Regions from separate parts of the Homo sapiens genome. Here region 2 is linked to region 1. Evidence: promoter capture Hi-C in 16 types of primary human blood cells and fetal thymus (Javierre and others, 2016). All regions are on one chromosome and are shown on one strand. Each heading gives the region's core, a stretch centred on a gene start or on the middle of the fragment in contact. The rest is flanking DNA. Distances are from core to core; before and after follow the strand shown.

Region 1 (6,211 bases), core at 1,025-3,524:
TCTCACACCAGTCAGAATGGCCATTATTAAAAAGCCAAAAAAATAATAGATGCTGGCAAGGTCACAAAGGGAACCTTTATACACTGTTGGTGGGATAAATTTGTTCAACGATTGTGGAAAGCAGTATGGCAATTCCACAAAGAGCTAAAACCAGAACTGCTATTTGACCCAGGAATCCCATTACTGGGTATATACCCAGAGGAATATAAACCATTCTACCATAAACACACATGCATGTGAATGTTCACTGCAGGACTGTTCATAATAGCAAAGACATGGAATCAACCTAAATGTCCATCAATGACAGACTGGATAAAGAAAATGTGGTACATATACACTATGAAATATTATGCAGCCATAAAAAAGAAAGAGATCAGGTCTTGTGCGGGAACATGGATGGAACTGGAGGCTATCATCTTTAGCAATCTAATGCAGGAACACAAAATCAAATACCGCATGTTCTCTTTTATAAGAGGAAGCTAAATGAGAAGAACTTAGGAACACAAAGAAGGAAACAACAGACCCTGGGGTCTACCTGAAGCGGGAGGGTGAGAGGAGCAGAAAAGGTAACTATTGGGTATTGAGCGTATTACCTGGGTGATGTAATACTATGTACAACAAACTCCTGTGACTCATATTTATCTGTGTGACAAACCTTCACACGTACCCCCAAACCTAAAATAAAAATTAAAAAAATAAAAATAGATACACACAAAGACACATAGGACATTACTACAGTTTTCAGCAGTTTACAACAAAACAAAACAAAAGATGACCCATTTATAAGAGACTGGACAAATAAGTTATTCTATGTCCATAAAGTGGAACATTATACACCCTTTGAAAAATGAATTTGTTCTATACTAGGTGCTTTGAAAGGACCTCCACTAAGTATTGTTGGGTGAGAAATCAAGGTGCAAAGAAAAACACAGAATATCTCATTTTTGCCAAAGGTAACAAGGGGTGCAGTAGAGTGTATACCAAGCTGTGTAGCATGCAATTGTTCTATGTTAGTTTTGTCTCCCCTGCTACACTTTAAGTTTCTTACAGGCTGGGTCCATGTCTTACACTTCCTTTGAAACTTCTCCCTGTAACTCAATCCTTCTTGAGCCTCAAATATATCACAGATTTACTGCATTGTTCATTTAAAAAAAAAGGATCTTGTATTTCCCTTGAGCCAATGTCCCAAGTAGCTGACCAGCACCCTCTGAAGACCCAGGGGTCTTCCTGCAGTGCAGACCCACTGACGAAGACAGGGCTGCCCTGGTCTTGCCACCCCAGGCCAGTGGGGCACACAGCCAACAATTTCCCTTACACGAAGACCCCAGAGATATGCTAGGAGGCAGCCTGCAAGCTCACTTTCCCAACTTTATTTTCCAAATGTTTATAGAAAGCATGATGGAATTGGATAAACCTAGGTTTGAATATGTTCTCTGAAACTGAGTTAAAAATACCACAAAGTGTTTTGTGATAATTAAGTTACAAAGTATCTAAATAAATGATGGCATATTTCCTACAGTAAAATCCTATACAACAACTAAAAGAAATTAGCTGTATGAGTTTTGTATACACCTGCATCAACATAGATCAATTCAAAATGGATGGGTGGAAAACATGGGTTGCAAAAGGACACACTACATAACACGCAAAAAACACTACATGTTATTTATGAATGCACAGATATGTAGTAAAAGTTAAAAAGCTGAAGGGAAGAACATACACCACCTCAACAACATAACGGAAGGGATGGGGGCATGATGGGCAGGAGGGGGGTCTTACCAGTATATTTGTAAGGTTTGATTTCTTCATGAAAAGACTTTATGACATATATGGCAAAATGTTAACATCTTAAACCAAATGGTACATTGAGTACATTACCATTTGAAATAATTTTGATATGTTTAAAATATTAGTTTTTGAAAAATAACCATAAAAATCAACAGTATACATTACCCTTATGGGCCTCTTGGTTTTCTTAGAGAAACCAATTTCAGGGTTCTAGATACTGAGGGATACATGTGGAAGAAGGAACTACTGAACCAGACACTGACCTCTTACTGTGAGTCATCTCACTGAATCCCAGCAATTCTGGCTGGTGATGTCACAATGACTCACATCTTCACGTCCTTGTATCACGACATCAGTGTTGAACAAATGATTTTTTTCACAGCCCACTAAAACCAAACACCAGGAATGGTAGACTGTTATGGATTACCCCCAAAATAACCAGAAGCCAACAAGTATTTCAATTCCAAAGACATCCAGCCTAGAATCCTACTAGAGATCAGAACAGGCAAGAAATTCTAAATTAATGTCAAATTTCAAAACAGTTCACCATGAAGTTATATGAGGAGTAAAAAGATAACATTCCCAGAGACCCAAAAGTTTCTTATGGCTTGTTCTTTACTGATCATTGATGTAGGTACATAATGAGAGATCTCCATCAGTGAGCTTGGCACCAGCCACAGGTGGCCCACTGCCACCAGAGCTGGGCACAGGCCCACTTCCAGCTGCTACTCATGATGGAGCAAAAACCCTCACTTCTAGCCATCACCCCTCCAGATCTGGTACAGAGCCCGGAAAAGGTGGGTGTGGTGCTTGGAAAGTTGGTTCGTGTGTGTGTGTGTGTGTGTGTGTGTGTGTGTGTGTGTGTTGGGGGCAGGTAGTGATCCAAATGTAATGGCAGCATGGTCTCTCCAAGGAAGCCTTAGGTGTGAGTGAAGCCTCAGTGAACACACACACGTGTCAGCAATGGACCAGCTGCTGCCAAATCACACAACTACGCAACACGTTGCTCAGAAATGCCAATGGTTAGTGTACGCCCCACTGATAATGTTCCTGCATCTTCTTTACTTTCATACAAAACTCATCAAGATGTAAATCTCCACTTAGGCAAGAGTTGCTTTTTGCAAAAAGCTATTATTGCCAGATAGGACCTGGATGGTCAGGTCATGAATGAATGACCTCATCAGGTAAGAGCTAGTTATTTTCAGAATGCCAAAAAATAGTGGATGGGACCCAATTTGTTTTGCTTTGTTTCTAAGCCAACCTAGAGTAATTTGACAGGTGTATCCTAATCCTTACAATATTAACCCATATACTTTCTACTTTCTCTTTGATAAAAATTCTGGTGTTTTTGTCATCATCTGCTAATATACATATTTTAGGATATTGGTTTTAGGATCCTAAATATGTATATTTACAGGTGACTAGCAGAGTGCAAACATTACTATGACAATGGAGCAGAGGCCCGGGGCGGCACCGAGCCTTGGTAAGAGCCGACAGAAATGGCAGGTCACAGGCCGTCACTGAGGAGAACTGCAATGCGGCAACACTTATATGACACTTAATTTGGGTCATGTACTAGTGTGGATGCTTTATTTATTCATTTAACTTTCACCACATTTAACTTCACCAACTCTATATGCTGTAAGGATTTTTATTATCTCCCTTATAAACAATCTGAGGCACAGAGAAGTTACATAACTTGCCCAAGGTCACACAGAAATAACTGGTAGAACCAGGATTAAAATGAAGATAATCTGGCTCAGAAGTCCCTTACTTTTAACCTTGTACCATACTGCCTCTTAAGAGTAGAGATATAAAATGTAGACCGGAGCGGCCGGGCGCAGTGGCTCACACCTGTAATCCCAGCACTTTACTTTCGGAGGCCAAGGTGGACGAATCACAAAGTCACGAGATCGAGACCATCCTGGCTAACATGGTGAAACCCTGTCTCTACTAAAAATACAAAAAAATTAGCCGGCCGTGGTAGCGGGCACCTGTAGTCCCAGCTACTCAGGAGGCTGAGGCAGGAGAATGGCGTGAACCCAGGAGGCGGAGTTTGCAGTGAGCCAAGATCATGCCACCGCACTCCAGCCTGGGCGACGGAGCGAGACTCCGTCTCAGAAAAATGTAGACCAGGGTGAAAAATCTACTATTAGTTCGTTCTCCAGATTTCCTTAAATTATTCATTTTAAATCAGGTCTAGCTTGTGAACTGGCTTGAACCCCAAGGAAATTTTTAAATGATCAAGAAAACTTGGTCAGAAAAAGTGAGACAATGCAAACCAGGTAATTGTTTGAATAAAGTAGAGAGATGTTGTGTGCAAGCAGAAGAGAAGGCAACTTATTATAGCACCGAGGTCAGGGAGGCTGCTGACCTTCAGGAGCCCAGTCCAGGAAAGGAAAGATGGTATAGAAAGCCCATAGCAACCAGTAGTGGAGACCAAGAAGGCAGAGAGTTTGACTGATGTTTACTTGCAGACACTATGGGAATGGGTAGGAAGCCAGTCAAATGCTGCATTAGGTTCAGCATGAAATCTGGAAGAGGAAGAGTTGCATCAACAGGAGGGAAAGGCTATAGAATGTGGGTGAAACAATTAGCAAGATAGCTCATAGATAAATCTGAAAAGATTGTATATACTTAGGGCAGAAAGCACATATCACAGTGGAAAAGTACTCTGAATTTACTACTAATACATGAACAAGTCTATTTGTAAATGTTATCACCCCCAAGTTTTATAATACAGCTAAAGTTGCAAGGAGAGGTAAGTATATCTGTGACTATAGTCCTGGCTCACTTGACACTAGGACTTAACCATGCTGGATGTATAACAAGTAACACATCTTTCCTAAGGTGACAAAAATCAACATTTTGAAAAATTCAAGCTCAAGCTCTCCCTCTCCCTCTCCCGTCTCCTGCTTTCCACGGTCTTCCCCTCTCCCTCGTCTCCATCTCTCACTTTCCACGGTCCCCCTCTGTTGCCGAGGCTGGACTGTACTGCCGCGATCTCGGCTCACTGCAACCTCCCTGCCTGATTCTCCTGCCTCAGCCTGCCGAGTGCCTGGGATTGCAGGCGCGCGCTGTCACGCCTGACTGGTTTTTGTATTTTTTGGTGGAGAAGGGGTTTCGCCGTGTTGGCCCGGCTGGTCTCCAGCTCCTGACCTCGAGTGATCTGCCCACCTCGGCCTCCCGAGGCGCCGGGATTGCAGACGGAGTCTCGCTCACTCAGTGCTCAATGCTGCCCAGGCTGGAGTACAGTGGTGTGAACCTCCACCTCCCAGCTGCCTGCCTTGGCCTCCCAAAGTGCGGAGATTGCAGCCTCTGCCCGGCCACCACCCCGTCTAGGAAGTGAGGAGCGTCTCTGCCTGGCCGCCCATCGTCTGGGATGTGGGGAGCGCCTCTGCCCGGCCGCCCCATCTGGGAGGTGAGGAGCGCCTCCGCCCGGCCGCCGCCCCGTCTGGGAGGCAGGGGGCGCCCCCGCCCAGCAGCCGCCCCATCTGGAAGGCAGGGGCGCCTCTGCCTGGCCGCCCCCTCTGGGGGGTGGGGGGCCCCTCTGCCCAGCCACCACGTCTGGGAAGTGAGAAGCCCCTCTGCCCGGCCGCCACCCCGTCTGGGAGGTGTACCCAACAGCTCATTGAGAACGGGCCATGATGACGATGGCGGTTTTGTCGAATAGAAAAGGGGGAAATGTGGGGAAAAGAAAGAGAGATCAGATTGTTACTGTGTCTGTGTAGAAAGAAGTAAACATAGGAGACTCCATTTCGTTCTGTACTAAGAAAAATTCTTCTGCCTTGGGATGCTGTTAATATATAACCTTACCCCCAACCCCATGCTCTCTGAAACATGTGCTGTGTCAACTCAGGGTTAAATGGATTAAGGGCAGTGCAAGATGTGCTTTGTTAAACAGATGCTTGAAGGCAGCATGCTCGTTAAGAGTCATCACCAATACCTAATCTCAAGTACCCAGGGACACAAACACTGGGGAAGGCCACAGGGTCCTCTGCCTAGGAAAACCAGAGACCTTTGTTCACATGTTTATCTGCTGACCTTCTCTCCACTATTGTCCTATGACCCTGCCAAATCCCCCTCTCCGAGAAACACCCAAGAATGATCAATAAATACTAAAAAAAATTTAAAAAAAAAGAAAAATTCAAAAGCTGATCTTTTTTGCTATTTATTTAACCATGATGTTTATATCCCTATCTGTATTTATCTGTTATCAGTACAAACACTCTTGAGAACTGTTTTTATAGATGCTCTATTCAAGTTTTATAAAACAGATACAACACACCCACAGATACACATTCATAGACACAACTTACATGCTACTTTTTATACAAAAGTTTTAGAACTATTTTTTCTTGGTCATAAGTAAGTCTCAGATCTTTCAAAAGGTACTTTTTTTTTTTTTTAAGTCTGATAACCA
Region 2 (6,211 bases), core at 1,127-3,626, 700 kb before region 1:
AGTTAAGATCCAGCCACCAGCTGTGGTCAAGGGAGAGAGAAAACTCACCCATAGCCTTAATGATCTTTGGAATCTCCATAATCACCACAGGCTGGCTGTGCTTGTGACAAGTGCTCACACTAGCAGTCAGCCAACCATCAGCAAACCTCTCCATGCTGGTCTCGGAGTAGCTGATGACCAGTCCTGGTCTCGGGGTAGCTGATGACCAGTCCTGGTCTCGGGGTAGCTGATGACCAGTCCTGGTCTCGGGGTAGCTGATGACCAGTCCTGTTCTCGGGGTAGCTGATGACCAGTCCTGGTCTCGGGGTAGCTGATGACCAGTCCTGGTCTCGGGGTAGCTGATGACCAGTCCTGGTCTCGGGGTAGCTGATGACCAGTCCTGGTCTCGGGGTAGCTGATGACCAGTCCTGGTCTCGGGGTAGCTGATGACCAGTCCTGGTCTCGGGGTAGCTGATGACCAGTCCTGGTCTCGGGGTAGCTGATGACCAGTCCTGGTCTCGGGGTAGCTGATGACCAGTCCTGGTCTCGGGGTAGCTGATGACCAGTCCTGGTCTCGGGGTAGCTGATGACCAGTCCTGGTCTCGGGGTAGCTGATGACCAGTCCTGGTCTCGGGGTAGCTGATGACCAGTCCTGCTGGCCTCAGCATTGTCCAAGGTCCTTTAATGTGTGTAGTGGTGGAAGAAAAGACTTTATTATTTGTTATCTGCCTTGCGGGGTCTCCTGGACAGGAGCAGATAGACACAAATGGGAGCTGGTTTAAATGGCGTTTTTGGGGACACAGGGAATGACCTTCCCTGTGCCCAAACATGAAGCAGATCCCCTCTTTCCTTGGTGTCCCTGTTCAATTTTCATGTTTTTATTGCTCAAATGTCTCCCATGGCTTTCTTTATCACATTGCTTCCAAATCCAAGATGGCGCTCCATGGTGTAGCTCCCTGGGAGTTTCCAGCATGACTGTCAGGTTTGAGTCAGCCATGGATGCCATCAGTTGGGTGTTGACACTCTCTTTGACATCCTTGGGAGAGCCCCAGGCAGACCCGGGCTGTGTTCTGTTTAAGGAACCATGAACTCCACTTCACTGTGTGATCTTGAGCCAGCATTTAGTCTCTGTAGGTCTTCTACTTTAACACTCAAATGAGAATGTTGGCCTAAATGATCTCTAAAGTCTTTTCTGTCTCCTCCTTCATTGTAGTTCCCATCTTCAATACTTCCATTGCTCCGAAGGTGGAAGTTCAGCATTTTAGCCCCCAAGTCCTAGCCCTGCTGAGTGTGACATGCAAAGCTTCGACCCACAGCAGGAAGTCTCACAGTTCTGGGCTAGGACTGCAGCTCTGTTTTCAGGAAAGTTATCTGGAGGCTCTTCTTCCTTTAGCCTCTCCCATGGCTTTCAATGTGGGGCAGGTGAGTTAATTATTCAAGGGGGTGTCTCTGCCAAGAGAAAGTCACCTGTGGAGAAGAGTTCTGTGTCTGGACTTGGAGCACAGCCACGATGCTGTCATCTGCTTCCTCTTGGCACACACCCTTGATCCAAGGCTTGCCATTTTCACTTCTAAATTACTAGGTTAATAGAAATGGCATCAAAACATTAAATAAAGTGAGGCATATACCATGGATCTGCAATTCTAATTGACTTGAAATTTAGAATCTGATAATTATTAGCATTGTGTTAATCTCCGTTATCATATGTGTAGCGAACACTGTGCAAAATAATTTGGGTAGAGAACGCGCAACTGTACTTTCAAAATGATGCCTAACGTGACTCTATTCTGTGTTGTTGTTTCACTGTTTTGCTCACCAGATCCTAACAATAACCCTGTGAGTGGCAGATGGGGTATTTTCCTTCCAGTCTTCCTCCTGGTAAACTGAGACTCAGGGTGGTGAGGGAACTTCCCATGGTTGACCCAGGACCAGAGCCCCCTTCTAGGCGAGTGGACTCCACCCCCAGCCCCCACGTGATGCGCTGTTTTTCCGATGCCCTCTTGCAGCTGTTGCTGCTTCTGCGCTGGGAGTTCTCTTTTTCACTTGAATGTTTTCTTCTCCAGGGCTGAGGACGCTCTTTGTATTGGTAGGCAGCCTGCACTTGTTCCTTTCAGTCCTGGCAAGTAAAAGCAGGAATTCTAAAAAGCAACGATTATTCCTCCTAGTTCCTTTGTACAGAGCCCTGTAAATAATTTATTTGGATTTGAGGGGGTAGAGACTGACAAACATATTGAATCTCTCAGTAACTGGGTGAATTCTGTGTTCAAAACTTCAATGCAGTGGAAAGAGAAATACTTCTTTGAAATCAGAGAAGACTTTGAGTGACCCGAGAGCTCAGGCGTGAGGCTGGAAACAGACCACAACAAGAAGTTTTTTTTTTTTTTTTTTTTTTTTTGGCACGTAAAGGTCACCCCTGAGGTTCCCACATCCACATCCTTCACAAATGTAGCTGGGATATTGAGACAACTAGCTCTGGAGTTGGAAAACACTGGGACAGGTCCGAGCTGGGGCACTGCCCAAGTCCCTCCTGTTGCACTCAATACCTGGGTTAAACAAAGAAAATTGTGTTTGCCAGTCTCACTAGCTAAAGTCACAAGATACTGAGTCTCATGCAGCACTCTGGAATTCCTACAAAAACTCATCCGCAGGGGTATGCTGCCCGCTACACAGAAACGGCCGTGCATCGGACTTTCCAGATAAAAACATTTAGTACAGAGTTGAAAAACCATGTGATGGTCATGGATTTTGTGAAGAGTAACTGGTTTCCCTCCCAGAGAAGAGCCAAAGTTTGTATCATCCATATGTGTCAAGGCTTGAAGACGGCTGAGCAGACAGCCAGCAGATATGAGGTATGGCTGAGCCTGGGTGGGTGAGTGGGTACACGCTTGACTCAGAGAGAGATGGACGTGTTGCTCATCAGACAGTTCAGGTGTTTTATCTGGTCTAATAAATTAATCATTTGTGTTTGTAGACTTCCCTAAGGGATTTGGAAAAGCCTTCTTCATTTCTGAATTTATTTTAGTTTTTGAAATATGGGGGAGGGGGAAAGTATATCGGATGAAGTTAATTTACGATGACACATGTCTGCATTTACAAACTTTATTGGTGCTCCAAAGACTACTGAGTTGGGTAATTTGTATCCATGTTTAGAAACTACAGCATGTTTCTGTGAGTTAAATATTCTTAGCTCTGTATGTTTGCAATCACCTGTCTTTAAAAGCAAATTCCTACTTGTTTCCTGTTGCGTTTTGTAGGAGAATATGTATGACGTGCCTTCATCGAGTTAAAATAGAATGATTCAAGTTAGGCCAGTAAGAATGATCTTTTATTTTTGAGAGCAAGCTCTAATTTTCAAGCAGAGACAACTTTGTAAAAAAAAAAAAAAAGACAGAGAGTGAGAGAACTTTGGAGATTTAAAATGTCAAAGTGAGATAAACACATTACTCTGAAACATATTTGTATTCTGCAACTAGTATCAGCCACAAGCAGTTATCTTTTCAGAAAGTAAACACGCATGAAATCTGATCGGCTGTTTATTGTACATGGAATAAATTATGAACGACATTGTAATTGACTCCCATATAGCTCATTTACCCATCTCTTTTGATAGATGTAACATGCAAATTGCTAATGCCTTATGAAAAGGTAACCTTTCTGAATATTGATGCTGTTATTAGGAAAGCCTTCCCATGAATACTGGCAAATACGCCAGGTCTTTGTTCCCCAGGCTGGGCAGAAGGAAGCCAGCACAGTGTGGAAGGAACAGGTTTTTCAAGGTTCAAGGCTGGCTTCTTCCAGTTCCAGCCCTGGGAGTGTGAATTTCCATGTTCACAACAGAGATGTAAAGGCCACAGAAATAATGGTGCTAATTAAATTCAGTAATAGTTGTTCATTACTTCATTGCCCAATCAACTGGAGCAAAAGGTGTGCAATTAGAATATAATTGAAAGAAATCAGAGATGTCATTATTCACAAGTAATTAATCAGATGGGGACAGAATTTTATCATTGCATAATTTTCACTGAGGTTATTTTCCAGTCCTCCAGAGAGAGAAAAACTTGTTGAATTACATTATTATGCATTGTTCATAGCTTCATTTTAAACCCTATGTAGCAAATGGTAGATCTGGCATTCTCGTTTTCTTCGTATATAAAACTTCACTGATTCCTATAGCCACACTGATTAAAACAATATGAAAAAAGTACACCTTTTTAGGAGGTTACAAAAAACTTCAAATATATGACAGTCACAGCTACATTTTTTTCAGGGCCCAATACGCTGCTACTATTGACAGCCAACAACCGAGCCACTAATGTTAAAATGAATGCCAGATCCAAGCCCCCACCCACAATCAGTCTGATGGGCTGGATGGGCCTCACTGTGTCCATGACTCCCCAAGTTGTCCAGGAAGGGCCTGCCTCCTCAGCTCTAGGGCGGGCCAAGTTTGAAAACCATCAGATGGGATTTGCACCCCCTGTCCCTCTGAACTTCAAGGTCTGCTCTTGACTTTTGGTAGCAAACATTTCCGATTTTAAAATATTCCTCATCCATTAAACTATTCTTCATGTTATTCCTACCATGACATCTCAGCATTATTTAGATTAGGAAATTTAGGAAGAAGGAAACTTCCTTGCTCAATTTCCCAAGCTGAACTGCTGAGAGACCCCAATTAGCACTTCTGGGTTCTGCCTTTGGACTTGGCCCAGTGACTCCTTCTCTTCTATCAGCTCCAAGGCCATTGGTTAACCTGCCCTGGGCTTTGACCACAAAGTACTCAATGGGCTGACAAATGAGCAGGGTCTCTGGGATGAACTCTCAATGCACAAAGGTGCTAGATTAAAGAAACTGGCTGGTTATCTGGCAAAAGTGAGTTTTGGAGATTTTATTTCTGTAAAAACCTTATGGATTTCAAGTTCTTCCCATGAGGTCCTGCAAATCTGCTTGATTTTAGTGTAAAACCTACAGACTCAAATTTTTCCAAAACCATGGTCTTAGTCCTGAGCTGTCTTAATGGTTGGAGAAGCCACCTCTCACCAGCTGAACTGCAGCCCAGGGATGATCCAGCCACACGCATACCTTTACATAGACTTCCTTCTGATAGGAACAAGGAGCAGAGCCTGCTGCACTGAAAGTTACCAGGATTGGGAGCAGGTGGTGGTGAGGGGTGCTGAAGGTCCCTGGGTTCATATTTTCAAAGACTTGATGTCTGCACACTCTAAAAATGCCCCAAACTCTGAGAAATACAGTTTGTTAAGGGCATGTCTCCCCCTGCGTATGTTTTTGATGAATTTCAGACATCAATGTAGCCATAACTGGAGGATGGGATGAGCCTATATTGGAGCTCTGCCTTCTGTCCGCATGGCAAGCAGGGACACTTTCTGAGACTCTCTATGCAGCAGAGCTTGCGTGGTTTTGCCAGCTTGGGAAGGGAAACCTCATAGAATTCAGTGATGTGCTCATATCTCCTATGGTGTGAATGTAAGTGAGCATCTCCTGATTGATTGTGGAGACCTTTCTGATGGTAGGTGCAGGCTGAGATGCATCAGCTAAGGCTCACCCATCTGTCCTCTGACAGGCGACAGTTTCTAATGCCTTTAATCACTAAATGAGCCAAAGAAAGATTTTGTATTTGGAAATCACTATTTGGCCATGCCTCCTGATATTTTTCAAAATCTCCATCATCATTTCCATCTCCTTTTTCTATTCATTCTTTTAAAAAATTGGGTTTAGTCAGCTGGGTGTGGTGGCTCACGCCTGTAATCCCAGCACTTTGGGAGGCTGAGGTGGGTGGATCACGAGGTCAGGAGATCAAGACCATCCTGGCTAACACAGTGAAACCCTGTGTCTACTAAAAATACAAAAAATTAGCTGGGTGTGGTGGCAGGTGCCTGTAGTCCCAGCTACTCGGGAGGCTGAGGCAGGAGAATGGCATGAATCTGGGAGGCAGAGCTTGCAATGAGCCGAGATTGTGCCACTGCACTCCAGCCTGGGCGACAGAGCAACACTCTGTTTCCAAAGCAAAACAAAACAAAACAAACAAAAAAAAATTGGGTTTAGCCAGTAGTGCTGAATTCTGGCTGAGTAGAATCATAGTGAACTTTTTTTTTTTTGAGACAGGGTCTCACTCTGTCGCCCAGGCTGGAGTGCAGTGGCACGATCTTGGCTCACTGCAACCTCCGCCTCCCGGGTTCAAATGATTCTCCTGCCTCAGCCTCCTGAGTAGCTGGGATTA

What was found. Contacts are between HindIII fragments. The CHiCAGO score rates a contact against its expected background, and 5 or more counts as called.
Region 2: the fragment with the promoter of C10orf90 here is called in contact with the fragment with the promoter of FANK1-AS1 in region 1 in 16 of 17 cell types (erythroblasts, total B cells, endothelial precursors and 13 more); the score reaches 19.5 in erythroblasts.

What each region holds. Positions count from the first base shown.
Region 1 is chr10:125,969,336-125,975,546 of GRCh38, reverse strand. It overlaps FANK1-AS1 (FANK1 antisense RNA 1), which reads left to right and starts at 2,274. Exons shown (of 4, transcript NR_102707.1): 1 at 2,274-2,293; 2 at 2,423-2,585; 3 at 2,702-2,810; 4 at 3,206-3,359. All of the region lies in intron 1 of FANK1 (fibronectin type III and ankyrin repeat domains 1), which reads right to left. The HindIII fragment of the contact is 7,061 bases long and covers 1-6,211 here.
Region 2 is chr10:126,666,858-126,673,068 of GRCh38, reverse strand. It overlaps C10orf90 (chromosome 10 open reading frame 90), which reads left to right and starts at 2,376. Exons shown (of 10, transcript NM_001350921.2): 1 at 2,376-2,828. The coding sequence starts at 2,589. RefSeq lists a silencer at 128-350. The HindIII fragment of the contact is 6,507 bases long and covers 1,285-6,211 here.